Linked DNA regions of Homo sapiens: all the other regions are linked to region 1. The links are contacts of gene promoters, found by promoter capture Hi-C in blood cells and fetal thymus (Javierre and others, 2016). All regions are on one chromosome and are shown on one strand. The core of a region is centred on a gene start or on the middle of the fragment in contact, and the rest is flanking DNA. Distances in the headings are between cores, read along the strand shown. Region 1 holds the start of ATF7IP (activating transcription factor 7 interacting protein). Region 2 overlaps PTPRO (protein tyrosine phosphatase receptor type O). Region 3 holds the start of LOC105369672 (a long non-coding RNA gene).

Evidence for each region. Contacts are between HindIII fragments. The CHiCAGO score rates a contact against its expected background, and 5 or more counts as called.
Region 2: a contact is called between a fragment that was not itself captured here and the fragment with the promoter of ATF7IP in region 1, in 1 of 17 cell types (non-activated CD4 T cells). The highest score is 5.4, in non-activated CD4 T cells.
Region 3: a contact is called between a fragment that was not itself captured here and the fragment with the promoter of ATF7IP in region 1, in 1 of 17 cell types (non-activated CD4 T cells). The highest score is 5.4, in non-activated CD4 T cells.

What each region holds. Positions count from the first base shown.
Region 1 is chr12:14,362,822-14,367,823 of GRCh38, forward strand. It overlaps ATF7IP (activating transcription factor 7 interacting protein), which reads left to right and starts at 2,861. Exons shown (of 15, transcript NM_018179.5): 1 at 2,861-3,006. It overlaps LOC124902884 (a long non-coding RNA gene), which reads right to left and starts at 4,369. Exons shown (of 2, transcript XR_007063220.1): 1 at 2,528-4,369. RefSeq lists enhancers at 2,442-3,259, 2,491-2,550, 3,021-3,080, 4,437-4,576. The HindIII fragment of the contact is 10,385 bases long and covers 1-5,002 here.
Region 2 is chr12:15,567,420-15,572,421 of GRCh38, forward strand. It overlaps PTPRO (protein tyrosine phosphatase receptor type O), which reads left to right. Exons shown (of 27, transcript NM_030667.3): 19 at 1,998-2,079. Among named protein-coding and RNA genes, the nearest start is that of EPS8, 220 kb to the right of the region's middle. RefSeq lists an enhancer at 3,622-3,811. The HindIII fragment of the contact is 5,261 bases long and covers 343-5,002 here.
Region 3 is chr12:15,551,088-15,556,089 of GRCh38, forward strand. It overlaps PTPRO (protein tyrosine phosphatase receptor type O), which reads left to right. Exons shown (of 27, transcript NM_030667.3): 15 at 464-584. It overlaps LOC105369672 (a long non-coding RNA gene), which reads right to left and starts at 4,824. Exons shown (of 3, transcript XR_002957403.2): 1 at 4,577-4,824. The HindIII fragment of the contact is 1,837 bases long and covers 1,599-3,435 here.

The sequences.
Region 1 (5,002 bases), core at 1,611-4,110:
AGTCTAGAATATGAGCATATCTAAGAAAACTGATAAATCTGTGGTTATGCTGAATTATTTTTCCATTTGCTATTAGCATGGATAATCAAGAATAGACTATCATAGGCCAAGCATGGTGGCTCATGCCTGTAATCCCAGCACTTTGGGAGGCTGACGTGGGCAGATTACCTGAGGCCAGGAGTTCGAGACCAGCCTGGCCAATATAGCAAAACCCCATCTCTACTGAAAATACAAAAAATTAGCCGGCCGTGGTAGAGTGTGCCTGTAGTCCCAGCTACTCAGGAAGCTGAGGCAGGAAAATCGCTGAACCTGGGAGGCAGAGGTTGCAGTGAGCTGAGATCGTGCTACTGCACTCCAGCCTGGGCAACAGGGCAAGACTGTCTTAAAAAAAAAAAAAAAAAAAGAAAGAAGGCCAGATGTGGTGGCTCACGCCTTTAATCCCAGCACTTTGGGAGGCCGAGGCGGGTGGATCATGAGGTCAGGAGTTTGAGACCAGCCTGGCCAAGATGGTGAAATCCTGTCTCTACTAAAAACACAAAAATTAGCTGGGCGCGGTGGTGGACGCCTGTAATTTCAGCTACTCAGGAGGCTGAGGCAGGAGAATTGCTTGAACCCGGGATGTGGTGGTTGCAGTGAGCTGAGATCACGCCACTGCATTGTAGCCTGGGCAACAGAGCAAGACTCTGTCTCAAAAAAAAAAAAAAGAATAGACTATTATAAAAATGATTCTTTTTTATATGCTTACAGAAGACATAAAAAGAGAAACATAATGGGCTCTAGTATTCCAATCCAATTTCTCTTATTATTATGGAGTGTAACATTTAATATCAATATTTCTAATTTTCTGAGCATCTACTTATAATTGAGCACTGATGTACTATGAAAATTATAATAAATAAATTATAATTGAGCATCTATAATTTATTGAGTATATGCTAAGGACTGTGCTAATGATGTTACAACATTTAGCGATTAAACAATGCAAATTTAATTGTGTTATATCCCGACTTAAAACCTTTTAAATGATTCCTCATTGCTGTCCCAATGAGGTCCAACTTTTAGGCAAAAAATTAATTAAATCATTTATCATGATAGAGATGACCTCTTCTAGGAAGGCTTTTCTAATTCTCTAGGTCTGGATTAGGTGATATTTCTTTTTTTTTTCTTCGAGATGGAGTCTCACTCTGTTGCCCAGGCTGGAGTGCAGTGGCGTGATCTTGGCTCACTGCAACCTCTGCCTCCCGGGTTCAAGTGATTCTCCTGCTTCAGCCTCCCGAGTAGCTAGGACTACAGGCGCGTGCCACCACGACTAGCTAATTTTTTTTTTTTTGTATTTTTAGTAGAGGCGGGGTTTCACCATGTTACCCAGGATGGTCTCGATCTCCTGACCTCATGGTCTGCCCGCCTCGGCCTCCCAAAGTGCTGGGATTACAGGCGTGAGCCACTGCACCCGGCCCTAGGTGATATTTCTAAAGGCCACCTTATATTTTAAGTAAATTGAATGGTTCCAGTTATAAAAATAAGTATTAACAACCCTATTCTAATTTCTTATTAGTTACAAAAATTTCTTGTTCAGTTTTCTGTCTTCTTCACTAGAGTACAGATTTCTTGAGGACAGGCACCTAACAGATCTACAACACAGTGATTGCTAAATAAATACTGAACCAATACATTCATATAATGAGAAGTTACATAAAAAAACAATAACCACACGGTACCATCTAATATTATTTTCAGGCTATTCTTGCCTTGCAAAACATATGTACTTTTATTCTTTTTTTTTTTTTTTTTTTTTGATAAGGGGTCTTGCTCTGTAGCCCAGGCTGGAGTGCAGTGGTGAGATCTTCGCTCACTGCAATCTCGGCCTCCCAGGTCCCAGTTCAAGCAACTCTCCTGCCTCAGCCTCCTGAGTAGTTGGGATTACAGGCACGCACCACCATGCCTAGCTAATTTTTGTAATTTTAGTAGAGACGGGGTTTCACTATGTTGGCCAGGCTGGTCTTGATCTCCTGACCTCAGGTGATCCACCCCCCCTCAGACTTCCAAAGTGCTGGGATTACAGGCCTGAGCCACGGCACCTGGCCAAAACATATGTACATTTATTCTATCATTTAGTGCTTCCAACCTAGTTCAACTATAGTCATGATTGCCATTATACAGGTGAGAAAACTGAGTAACACACTTATTCCGAGGAACCGGCAAGGAAGCTGCAGTAGTTGAACTTGAACCCAGATCTCTTAACCAGTAAGGCAGTGACTTGTCCACTACCTCCTGTGGAATTCATTAAAGGCCGACTCCCAGCATGAAATTGAATAAATGGGATGAATACAACTTCTGGTGAGAGAGTATGATAAAAAGTGCTTGCTCTGTTACCAAGCAACTGAAAGAAAGTATGTTTTTTTCATTCCTTCATTATTAATACAATTCAAAGTACATTCTGTGAATTTAAAACATAAATGATGAATAAATCAACATACTCCTGGCTTTTATGAAAATCTTTCCCTCTGCTCTTTAAACTCTCACCTACCTCCTTCCTTCTTTCTTTTCTAAGCCTCATAGAGGGCGCTCACAAAGTGCTACTTATTGATTGAGGAAGATCCACTCAAAAAACACACCTCACACTGCAACTGAGAGACGCAGCGCCACCACCTCGGGCTTCCTTCTCTTTTCCACGCAGGAGGCGGGGCCAATGTCCCTCATTCAAATAAAAAACCAGAATTTGCATGGGGAATGGCTAGTCCTTGAGCTTATTGGCTGATAGCACAGTGGGCGGGGTACATAGCACGACCCCCCGGAGCCCCGCCCATATTAATTTGCATAACGGCCCCGGCGCGTGCAAGGGAGAAGCGGGTTTGTTTTTGAATCTGCGGAGGCGGCGGCGGTGGCAGCGGCGGCGCGGCGACTGAAGCGCGCGAAAAGCTGAGGCGGCAACGTCGGGGACGGCTGCGCGGGACGGCTCTGTAGGAAGGAACTTGGTTCCCCCTCCCTCAGCTTCCGCCCCAAAAGGTATATGTGAATCCCAGGGGCTGTTAAAACCACATTTTCTTAAATTACTATTGTATTTCTGAAGAGTCAAGACCGCATTATGGCGGCTGCGGGAGTTGTGTCTGCGCCTGCGCGGTTGCGGAGCTGCGGGCGGCGCTGCATGGGAGCACGTGATCTTGCGGGGTCGGGCTCTAGCTGCAGTTGTGCAGCTGGCGGGGCGGTGGCTGCGCAAGCGCAATATTCATTTTCAAGATCTAATGTTCTTGTTGGACGCCATTTGGGTTCTAGATTTAATTTTCCTCGTTCTTGAGGGGTTTCTTTGTGTTAACCTTAAATTCTCACAATTTTCAAGAAAAACATTACTCTAATGTTGTACTCCTGGGCCGACCTCAAGCTCTTCTCTGTTTTTTCGATTTTTTGAAAAATTGTGGACTTAATTTTCTGTAAAAATGATTTTCATTTGTGGTTCTTGATTATAATTTCAGTTTTAAAGTATTACTGGATTCAGGTTTATATTTACGGTGGTAAAGATCAGCACCTAGTGGTGTTCTCACGGGAAGTGCATTTATTTGAACTGCATATTTGCAAATACATTTTTAACCCTATTTTTACCTGTTCTGTTATGGATGTGTGGAATGTTTACAAAACAGAAACAATTTTAGTTTTGGGAATATTGGGGGAACGGGAATAGTGGAAGAAATTACAGTATAATCGAAAATGAAATCTCAATCTGAGGATTATTTTGGTTTTAAATGTTTGATCCTAAGTAAATAAAGTTTTAATTTTAATCAGTTTGTATGTTTCTGGGCATTTGAATTTTACATGTTTTAAGTTTCTTAGGTGACTTGTTCATTACTGCTTCAGCTAGATTATTGTTACTTTTGAAATTAATCAACTCATTTTCTTAGCATTTTTGTTTGCTATGATATGTAAGCTATAACATTTATTTGGTAAATTTTTCTGATGAAGAATTCTAGAAAGAACATCCATTACCCTGAGGCCTCTTTGAAGAAAGTGGACCATTAATAAAAAAAATCTGTTTTTTTCTTTTAAACACTGTACTGTATGCATGTGTGTAAGATACAGTTGTGTTTGATTTTTTAATTGTAAGTGTGCTCCTGGTTTTATTAATAGTTTTTTAGGGAAGGTAATTATAAATATGCTACTGATTAGTTTAAAATGGTAGTGTCAACTATAGTTAAATCTTATGTAACACAATTGGGGGAAGTTATATAAGATTTGATATGATTCTCCCGTTGTGCAAATTCTTTCTTACTAAGCAAAGAAACTTGCAAATGTTTTCCATAGACTTCATTTGTGGTTCATATATACAACAACTGGTTTCTTGGTTGGTTATAACTCTTTAAGTTTGAATCAGTCTACTGTCAAATGAAGACGTGCCTCTTGCTTTATAATCTCGGTTAATTTAGGGAAATTTTTATTGCCTAAAACAAATACCATTAGTAAATATTACCTAGATGTAATTGAAAGTAATACTTTTGGTTGGTGGATTTTTAAATGACGTCACATATGAGATAGAATGGAGGTAGGAAAGATTCTTCTTTTTTTCTCAAGAGAATATTTGACCTGATGTAATTCTTGGATCTCTGAGGTCTTCTACACAGAAGTATATTTAGAGAGCAGTTGTGTAATTTTCTCCCTTTTATGTTTCTGGAGTGGTTACCTAGCAGCCCCTTTCTACCACATGCTATTTCAGGCATTTTCGAGTTGAACATACACATAAATATTTCGGTTAACAAAAGAACTTTGATCTTTGATCTTAGGGCATGGTACACTTTACATTTCCAGAAAAATGAAATAGTTTGGTGTATATAAGCGTATGTTTTCATTTGAATATACAGATGATTGCTTTTTAGGTTAATATTGAAGGTAGTAAGAGGTATTTGAAAATGCTCTTGAATATGAAGAACATATTTATTGATGGGACGATTTTGCTGTCATGTTTCTTACAAGGCAGATATAATCATGTAAACTTAATAAGATTAATTAATTGCCT
Region 2 (5,002 bases), core at 1,723-4,222, 1.2 Mb after region 1:
TCTCTACTCCCTTCCAGCTTTCTTTTTCTTCTCCTTGTCATTCTCCTTCTCCCTTATGTCCATTCTTCTGTTTGCTATTCCTTCCTCTCTCTCTCTTTTCCCTCTGCTTCTTGCTTTTACTTCTTTTAACCCATTAATACTTTGTCTGGTTTGCCTTCTGTATACATGTGCCCATTTTCCTAGTAACAAGATGAAAGCTAGAGTTGTTAAATCCAACTTTAAGGTCGATACACTGCCCAAAGACACCAGCCAGAGAGTGCAGTTCTAAGGGGGTTCATTCCAGGAGAGGAGTCCCAACTTTAGCCCATTCTTTTGGAAGGATAACAAGTTTGAAGTGGGAAAAGCTTTGAACCAGGACTTACTCTCCCTGGATTCCAGTGAGAATTCTACTGCTTAGTAGACATGTGATGTTGGGCTACTCACTTAACTCTCTTAGCCGTGGCTCTCTCAGCTGGAGCATGGAGCTAATGTTGTCTATTCCTACCTCAGGGATCAATTAAGCAAGATAATGCATGTGACTATTTATGAAGTGTAGCGTGTTTTATAAATGAGTTATTGTTATTAAGTAAAAACATTTCAGTTTAAAGGTATTCTCTGGAAGATATAACGCCCTCTAAAATTTACTAAAATGTTAACATAAATGAATTAATCAGATTAGCTAATCAACAACTTTAAATGAGCATTATTAAATACTATGTATTTTCTAATTGGACATAAGACCACAGTTAGGCCAGGTGCAGTGGCTCACACCTGTAATCCCAGCACTTTGGGAGGCTGAGGCAGGTGGATCACTTGAGGTCAGGATTTCAAGACCACCTTGGACAACATGGTGAAACCAAATCTCTACTAAAAATACAAAAATTAGCCAGGTGTGGTGGCACCTGCCTGTAGTCCCAGCTACTTGGGAGGCTGAGGCAGGAGAATCGCTTGAACCTAGGAGGCAGAAGTTGCAGTGAGCCGAAATAGTGCCACTACACTCCAGTCTGGGTGACAGAGTGAGACTCTGTCTCAAAACAAAACAAAACAAAACAAAACAAAACAAAAAAGACCACAGTTAGATGATATAAGCTGAGTAACACACCACAAGACCAAGGGAAGGGTCAACTATAAAGACCCTGCCAAAGTGGAAAGGCTTGAGTTAGATGACAGAATGTGGAATTCTGCAGAAGCAGAGAGCTACTTTAGAGAGCAAATTGGTTTAGGTAGGCTCTAGAGGAGATAAGCAGCTACAGAAAACTACAGGAGATAAAACTTGATTCTTATTCTCAAAAAAAAGTGAGAACTTCTGCTGCGGATGCAGAAACATAGCTCAGATGTGTTACTTGATTGAACCTCTGAGCCATTTCCATACTTTTATAGATATGCAAGCCTCTAAAGATAACTCACTCCAGTGAGACCCTGGGAGCTTTCTGGACAAAAGTTTCATCCCACTGATCCTGCCTCTGCTTTGGGGAGACTGTAGCTAGCAGCACAATTCCTTATACTTGTAAAGCTGTTGAAACTTACAAAGTTCTTTATGTACTGTATGTCAACCCTGTAGCTGTAACTACTGTATTTTATGGATGAGAACATTGACTCTGAAGAGTTAGGCGATTCTCTAGGATAACACAGTCAATAAAGCAAAACCATAACTCAAACAGGTCTTTGGAATCCATTCCTTTGTTATTTTCCATATGCCAGAGTTTTTTAGAAGCAACACAGATGGGGGTGTGTGTATACGAGTATGCATATATATACTACTGTACTGCTACAGTAAGAGCCAAGTGGAAATCTAGAGATTTCTCCTATCAAGGAAGCTGGATATATATGCCCTTCTTTTCAATTGCAATATATTAAGGATTGGTAACTTGAACCAAAAAAAAAAGGTGAGTGCTAACCTTAGAGAAGTAAAACTTCTATTTTCTCCAAGAAGATTAAGAAGTATGATATTAAACAATATATAATACCTATCAACAAGAATTTTAAAATGTATGTATATTTCTTTGTGTTTGGCAAAGCCCGGTTCAACTGGATGACTTTGATGCCTATATTAAGGATATGGCCAAAGACTCTGACTATAAATTTTCTCTTCAGTTTGAGGTGAGTTGGTTAAGGCATTTTCTACCTTCTGTAATGGAAAGGGCCTGGGAATTGGGGGGTTTGTGTTGCGGTCATGTCCCTGCTCACTGGCAGTGCGTAACAAAAAGGGTATTGGCCTGGGGATTGCTGATCTGCTGGTTTAGAGCAAGGGTTGTCAATCCTTGCTTAGTAGGCAAGGCCTCAGGTGGCACAAATGAGATGAGGGGAAGAAGAGAATAGGTGCAGGTACTGAGGTGAGCAAACATGGGTATAGTAGAAGCCATCATTGAAAACCAGGGAAATCGAGAGTACAAGAAGAAAAATGCAAGCTGAGGCATGAAGCCTGAGACAGAATTTCCCTTTCAGGGGATTTGTAGTGTTTCTCATGCTTCTTAGGCCACAGTAGTGGCGGATAGTGGATAAAACTGACCCCCTTTGTGTCCTGGGCACATAACATCCTGGAGTAGGGCTTTTCAAGCTATAGGACTCCTGGCATTCTACTTAATAACTTTTGTGCAGTTTTATTTTCTTTCCTTGGACAAATTGGGGAGATAAAGTTACACATGATTTGTGTTAAGAAAAAAATTGACAACATCTCTTTTTTTCCGAAGGACACATATTTCTTTGGATCTAAAACCATATGTCAGAAGAGATGGAAGTGAGTGAGTCTAATATCTCAGCAGTGTGGGGGAAGATAATTAGTTCTCACTTTTTCTTTCTACATATTTTATAGCTCATAACACAGTCTAAATGGCCCCCCATCCTTCAGGTTTCTATAGCATGGCTTGAGTGGTCAGTGATTCAGGGAAAAGGGGAAGATAAAGTGATTTTTCTAAATTCTGTAGTTTTTTTTTTTTATAAAGCCTTTTAAGTGCTCTTTTCTATTAAGGTAGCTGCTTTTTCTTCAGTTTTTAAAATCATTTCTCCTTTCCACTTCTCAGCCAAGGACAGCTTTAGTCTGCAAAAAGCATCAGTGGTCCTGGTGTGGAGACACTAATGGGGAATTTGAGGATGAGAAGAATCTTATACATTACCAAATACAAAGACCGCTAACTACCACCTGTGTCCTGAAAAATTCCACACAGAGCCTGCTCACTTATCCATTGTATCCAGGTGCATAGGATATTATAGATGCTACACCAAATGCTATACTCAAAGAAATTCAATTTGAATTGGAAATGAATGAGGAGGATGGCATTTCAGAAAGTATATCAAGGAAAGGAGGACTTTTTTTCTAAGCAAACATGAGGCAAAACTCTGAAAAAATAAATAGCTAGATGATTCTAACGATGATAGAAATTATGGTATAGCTACACTTTTACCTTATTAAAGCCACATTTTCTTAATTCCTTCAAGATGGCATGCCCTTGGTGGCACAGCTGGATCATAACCTCTGCTGGCAACTCACAGTTTATGTCTTGAAACCCAAGCATAACTATTACTGTTTCTGAATTGCATGAAAAAAAATTCAACAAGTCATTTTCCAGTAAACATATTCTTTTAGTTGTGAGTGACAAAAACATAGCTCAAACTTGTTTAAACTAAAGGAAAGGGGGTTTATTCAAAGGATACTAAGGTATCTCATACAATCAAAGAAAAGGTTGAGTAGCTAGACTACGTGCAGGGAAGCAGCACAGTTTCAGGGATGACTGGAGCCAGGGGCCCCTCTATTTCTCATTTCTGCTTCTCTCTCTGTTTTGGTTTCACTTTGTTTCACTGAACAAAGAGAAACAAAGAGAAACGCAGCCAGAGAGGGCAGATGTTTGTGTTCAGTGAAACAACAAACAACCTCTTTTTCTGTCACTTTTGTTTTGTTTTGTTTTGTTTTTTGAGACAGTCTCACTCTGTTGCCCAGGCTAGAGAGCAGTGGCGCGATCTTGGCTCACTGCAACCTCCGCCTCCCAGGTTCAAGTGATTCTCCTGCCTCAGCCTCCTGAGTAGCTGGGACTACAGTTGCCCACCACCATGCCCGGCTAACTTTTGTATTTTTAGTAGAGACAGGGTTTCACCATATTGACTAGTCTGGTCTCGAACTCCTTACCTTGTGATCTAGCTGCCTCAGCCTCCCAAAGTGCTGGGATTACAGCCGTGAGCCACGATGCCCAGCCCAACCTCTTTTTCATAGTGAAAAGCAGCCAACAACAACCCTTGAGCACCACAGCCTTTTGTTTCCATGGTTTCCAAAGGGAATTACTGTCTGTCTTTCTTGTTTGTAGTTTGAAAATTAACAGGGGAGGATTTTGATGGACGAGCCTGTGTCATGGTGCCCATTCAAACCAATCACAGCCAGAGAGGGCAGATGCACAGAATCTCTAAATGGAACCATGTGGGCTCAAGTAGCAAAACCTAAGAAGGGCATTATCTCCCAATAAAGAGAGGGTATTGGGAGAACCAAACCATAAGCGATTAGCATGCTATCTTTAGATATCACAAAAATATGAAAAGCAGAATTATAAATTTTATGTGCTAAATGTTCAATTTATAATATGCTGAGGGCTTTTATTCATTCAATGGATAAATGAATACATTTAGCCTGACTTCATAGGATTTATAAGAAATGTGCTAAACTAGGAATCTAAAATCCTGAATCCTCACTACAGTGTTGCTACTAATTAACATTCTAAAAAATATGTTTTTTTCTTAACCAATTGATATATAATGAGTTTGGGGTGGGCTTGGGGGCGGATGATGTATTAGCTACAGATTTTTTATGTAGTGAACATGCTCATGTATAAGTTTCAATTTATCCAACTACTTTGTTGGAATAATTCTTATGGATTGAAACTGCCCAGGCAAAGTATATACAAAATCTGCATTTTGAGTAAATTTCCCATAAGTGGAGTAAGTTTTCCCAGTGTTCCTAAAACTATACAAACAGTATAGTATAGTATATACTTCCTAAAACTATACAAAGAGTAGATATCAACATTTGTAATCATTGATA
Region 3 (5,002 bases), core at 1,267-3,766, 1.2 Mb after region 1:
TTTTTGATATACATTATTAGTTGTAAGCAAAGTATACAGTTGTGCTTTCTGACTTCAAAATCATGGGCGTAAAATAAGAGGTTGCCACCCTCTAAGCTTGTGAAAATGTTAAAAAACGATAATGCATGGTAATGACTTCCACATTTTTAGCTTTCAAATGAATTTAAACTGTGGCACAGGTATTCTTCATTCTTTAGTTTCCCTATGTAAGAATATCCTGAATGTTGTAGGCCTTTGAAAGGGACTCAATTCTTCCAGACACCTCAATACCACTTATCAGTCTAGTTTGCTAAGTTACAGTTGACCAGGAAGAGGTCATTGCTGGCTTGGGGAACATGATTGTTACTATTATTGGTATCATCGTAAGCTCACTGCCCTTAAGACTAGATGAAAAGCAATGAATGGTTCTGTTTGGTTCCCTGTAAGAGAACCTATGATGAAAATGCACAACTTATCTCTTTAGTTACAGAGATGAATCCCAATGTGGTAGTGATCTCCGTGCTGGCCATCCTTAGCACACTTTTAATTGGACTGTTGCTTGTTACCCTCATTATTCTTAGGAAAAAGCATCTGCAGATGGCTAGGTAAGTTAAGTTTTACTAATATTTTATCCGGAATCTTTAAAATATCTTTATCTGCCATATATATATTGTTTTTGCACACCTAAGTTGTATAGCGGTATATTGGATTTTAGTTTTCAGTGTCTGTTTCTATTGTGTGTGTTTTCTAAATAGACTTCGAAACATTATATTGGAAAATATTACCATTGAAATGAGAAAGCAAAGGATTGCTTGTTTACACAAAGTCAGACCTCTTGCTATCAATCTTGGCATTTGAAGTAGCCCATATATGGAGATCCATTACATTTGGGTACTTTCATACACATTTGGAATAAAAGAAATATCTATGACAGTTCAGTATAGTTAATGAAAAAAGTTAATAAAAATGGAGATGACAAGAAAGAACGGGGTGGGGGGCGGGAAATCCTCTCCATAATTTTAAGCTGTTCTATTGGAAAATATTTGTACAGTTTATGATTAGGTCCATTAGCAGTCTCTATTAGTTTTATTCCTATTACTCAGAGTTGCAGCCAGCTTAGTTTTTCTTGCAATTAGAAAAGCCTTTGATTTATGATTTCAGCTCTTCCCTGTTCCTTTGACCACTGATGCATTGCTCATCAGAGCACATTCTCAAGTAGTTTCTGTGGCCCCCTGTATTATCAGAATAATCTATCAATTCCCTTAAAAACTGTTGCTTATTTGAATACTACTTGGTTTGGGAAATTTTGTTAACATTTATATTTGCCCAATATTAACCTGCTGAATTATAAATTAACATTCTTCTCCTGTCTCAGAGTTCTATCACTCACATATTTATAAATAAATTCATCTATCCAATAGTGATCTAATCAGTGCCTGACATGGCATATCCAAAGAAAAATCAGACATCAAAGCTGTCCACTAGGAGCTTACTTACCTAACTGGATATATGAATAGATAGATATATTTAAAGGCATAAGCTGACATGTAGCATAAAGGGGATTAAAAACAGGATGCCATGAAACTAGAGAATAAAGACTAATTCTGAATGTGAAAATAAGCTTCTTGAAGGTTGGCATTTGAATAATCTTAAAAGGATAAGAAGAGATGTGGGATTGCACTGTAACTACAGTGGAGAGCTCTGAAATTACACTCCTTGAGGTCAAATCTTTTTTTTTTTTTTTTTTTTTTGAGACAGAGTCTCACTCTGTCGCCCAGGCTGGAGTGCAATGGTGCCATCTTGGTTCACTGCAAGCTCTGCTTCTCAGGTTCAAGCGATTCTTCTGCCTCAGTCTCCTGAATAGCTGGGATTACAGGCACGCACCACTAGGCCTAGTTAATTTTTGTATTTTTAGTAGACACAGGGTTTCACCATGTTGGCCAGGCTTGTCTCGAACTCCTGACCTTAAGTAATCTGCCCACCTCAGCCTCCCAAAGTGCTGGGACTATAGGCGTGAGTCACCATGCTCGGCCTCCTTGAGATCGAATCTTGACTTCCAACTTGCGTGAATTTGTGTAGGTCACTGAAACTTCATGCGTTCATATTACAAATATTGCTACATATATGACAGTATATGAAACAGACAAAAATATGTGCCTTCATGGAGCTCATATTCTAGTGGGAGAAATAGACAATAAACAATAAAGATATAAGTAAAAGGACTGCCCCTTAAGTTAGCAGGTGATAAGGAAAGGAAACAAGGTCAGGTAAGGGAGATAAGCAGTACCAGTGTGGTGTTAGGGGTCCTAGGAGGTGGGTAGGCTTCACTGAAATAATGGCATTGGAGCAGAGACTTGAAGCACATGAGGGAGGTAGCCTGTGTTATCTGTGGGAAGAGTGTGCCCAGTGGCAAGAACAGCTGGTGTAAAGGCCCTGGGGTAGGAGCACGACTGGGATGTTCAAAGTGTAGCAGAGGGGCCGTTGTGACTAAAGCGGAGGAAGACAAGAGTAGAAGGAGATGTCAAGTTATGCAGGGCTTCGTATGCCTTTGGAAGGACTTTGGCTTTTACTCAGTAAAATGAGCAGGCATTGCAGGCTCTGGAGCAGAAGATTAACAGCATCTGACTTAGATTTAACACTTTCATTTTGACTTTTATGTAGAAAACAGGCTGTATTGAGGCAAGGACAGAGACAGGCATATCAACTGTGGTAGCCAGGAATCCAGGCAAGAGATGCTAATAGTTCAGTCCAGAGCAGCAACACTGAAGGCAGAGAGAAGCCATCAGATTCTGGACATATTTTGAAAATAGGAGCAACAGGATTTGCTAATAAGTTGATATGGAATGGAAATGAAAAAAGGAGTTGAGGCTATAATCCCAGCACTTTGGGAGGCTGAGCCAGGTGGATCACCTGAAGTCGGGAGTTCGAGACCAGCCTGACAAACATGAAGAAACCCTGTCTCTACTGAAAATACAAAATTAGCTGGGCGTGGTGGCACATGCCTGTAATCCCAGCTACTCAGGAGGCTGAGACAGGAGGCAGAGGTTGCGATGAGCCGAGATTGCGCCATTGCACTCCAGCCTGGGCAACAAGAGTGAAACTCCATCTCAAAAAACAAATAAACAAAAAAAGAGAGTTGAGGCTAACTCCTGGGTTTTTGGCCCAAGCACTTGAAAGGATGGAGCTGCCATCAACTGAGAGAGGATTCCAGGTCAGAGTTGGGGGAACATCAAGACTTCAGTTTTGGAAATTGTATTAGTCAGAGTTCTCTAGAGGGTCAAAACTAATAGTACATAGTAGTATATATATATCCTATTAGATATTATATATAGATATAGTGTGTGTGTGTATATATATATATATCTCCTATTATATATTATACATAGATATAGGTATATGGGAGTTTATTAAGTATTAACTTCCACGATCACAAGGCCCCACAGTAGGCTGTCTGCAAGCTTGAGGAGAAAGGAGAGCCAGTCTGAATCTCAAAACTGAAGAACTTGGAGTCCAATGTTGAAGGGCAGGAAGCGTCCAGCACAGGAGAAAGATGTAGGCTGGGAGGCGAGGCCAGTCTCTCCTTTTCACATTTTTCTGCCTGCTTTATATTCACTGGCAGCTGGTTAGATTGTGCCCACCCAATTAAGGGTGGGTCTGCCTTTCCCAGCCCACTGACTCATATGTTAATCTCCTTTGGCAACACCTTCACAGACACACCCAGGATCAATACTTTGTGTCCTTCAATCCAATCAAGTTGACCCTCAGTATTAACCATCACAGAAATGTTAAGTTTGAGATAACTTGCAAGTGCAGGTGCAGAGTAGCCACCTGGACATAAAAGTCTAATGTTTGAAAGAGAATTTTTGGTTGAAGATATAAATTTGAGAGTTGTTGGTTCTGCACAGTGGCTCATGCTTGTAATCCCGGCACTTTGGGAGGCAGGCAGCTCACTTGAGGTCAGGAGTTTGAGACCAGCCTGGCCAACATGGTGAAACCCCGTCTCTACTAAAAATACAAAAAAATTAGCCAGGCGTGGTGGCGGGTGCCTGTAATCCCAGCTACTCAGGAGACTGAGGCAGAAGAATCGCTTGGACTTGGGGGGCGGAGGTTGCAGTGAGCTGAGATCGTGCCACTGCACTCCAGCCTGGGCGACGACTGAGTGAAACTCCGTCTCAGGAAAAAAAAAATTGAGAGTTGTTAACATATAAATTGCGTTAGAGCTTTAGACTGGATGAAATTCAGGGAGTAAATGTAAAAGAAGGCCCTGCATTAATCACTGGAACAATCAATATTAAGGTTTTCAGGGAGAAAAGAAGATAACAGTAAGCGACTGACAAAGAGGCAGCCAGTGAAGTATAAGGACAACTAAGGGAGTGTGGTGGCCTGGAAGCTAGGGGAACAATGTGTATGCAGAAGAGATGATAATTGCCCCTATATTAGTGGATACTTAGGAGCATTAACGCAGTAATAACATAGCGTAATACTCAACTCATAGGAAGTGTGCAGTAAATGTTAGCTCATAATAGTAATGGTGGAGGAGGTGGTAATAGATGTAATGCAAGTAGTGGTATTTCTGAGCATTTTTTGTGGTACATACCAAAGATATTTAGGAGAGGTGGTTCTGATTCTTTCAGCTAGTTATTAAAGCATAGATTCTCATCATTTTTCATGCTATGATCCTTTTTGGCAGTCTGGTGAACTCTTCTAAGAATAATGCTTCCATTTTCTGTGCCTAAAATAAAATACATAGGATTATACAACTATATTGAAATATGATAATCATAATATTTAAAAAGCAAATGTGTTGTACACTTTTTAATTAGTATATTCAATGTCAATATGTAATAGTCTAACAATTTCATCATGGTGATGCATATGACCAATATTTCAAGATATCTGCAGCAAGTCTATTATTAAAAAATATGTAATCTCTATTGTTAGCAAATCATCCATGTGGATATTCTGATGGTTTGGTACCTACTTTAATGATAGAAAGGACTGCTAAGTTTAGTCACAGGTTGTG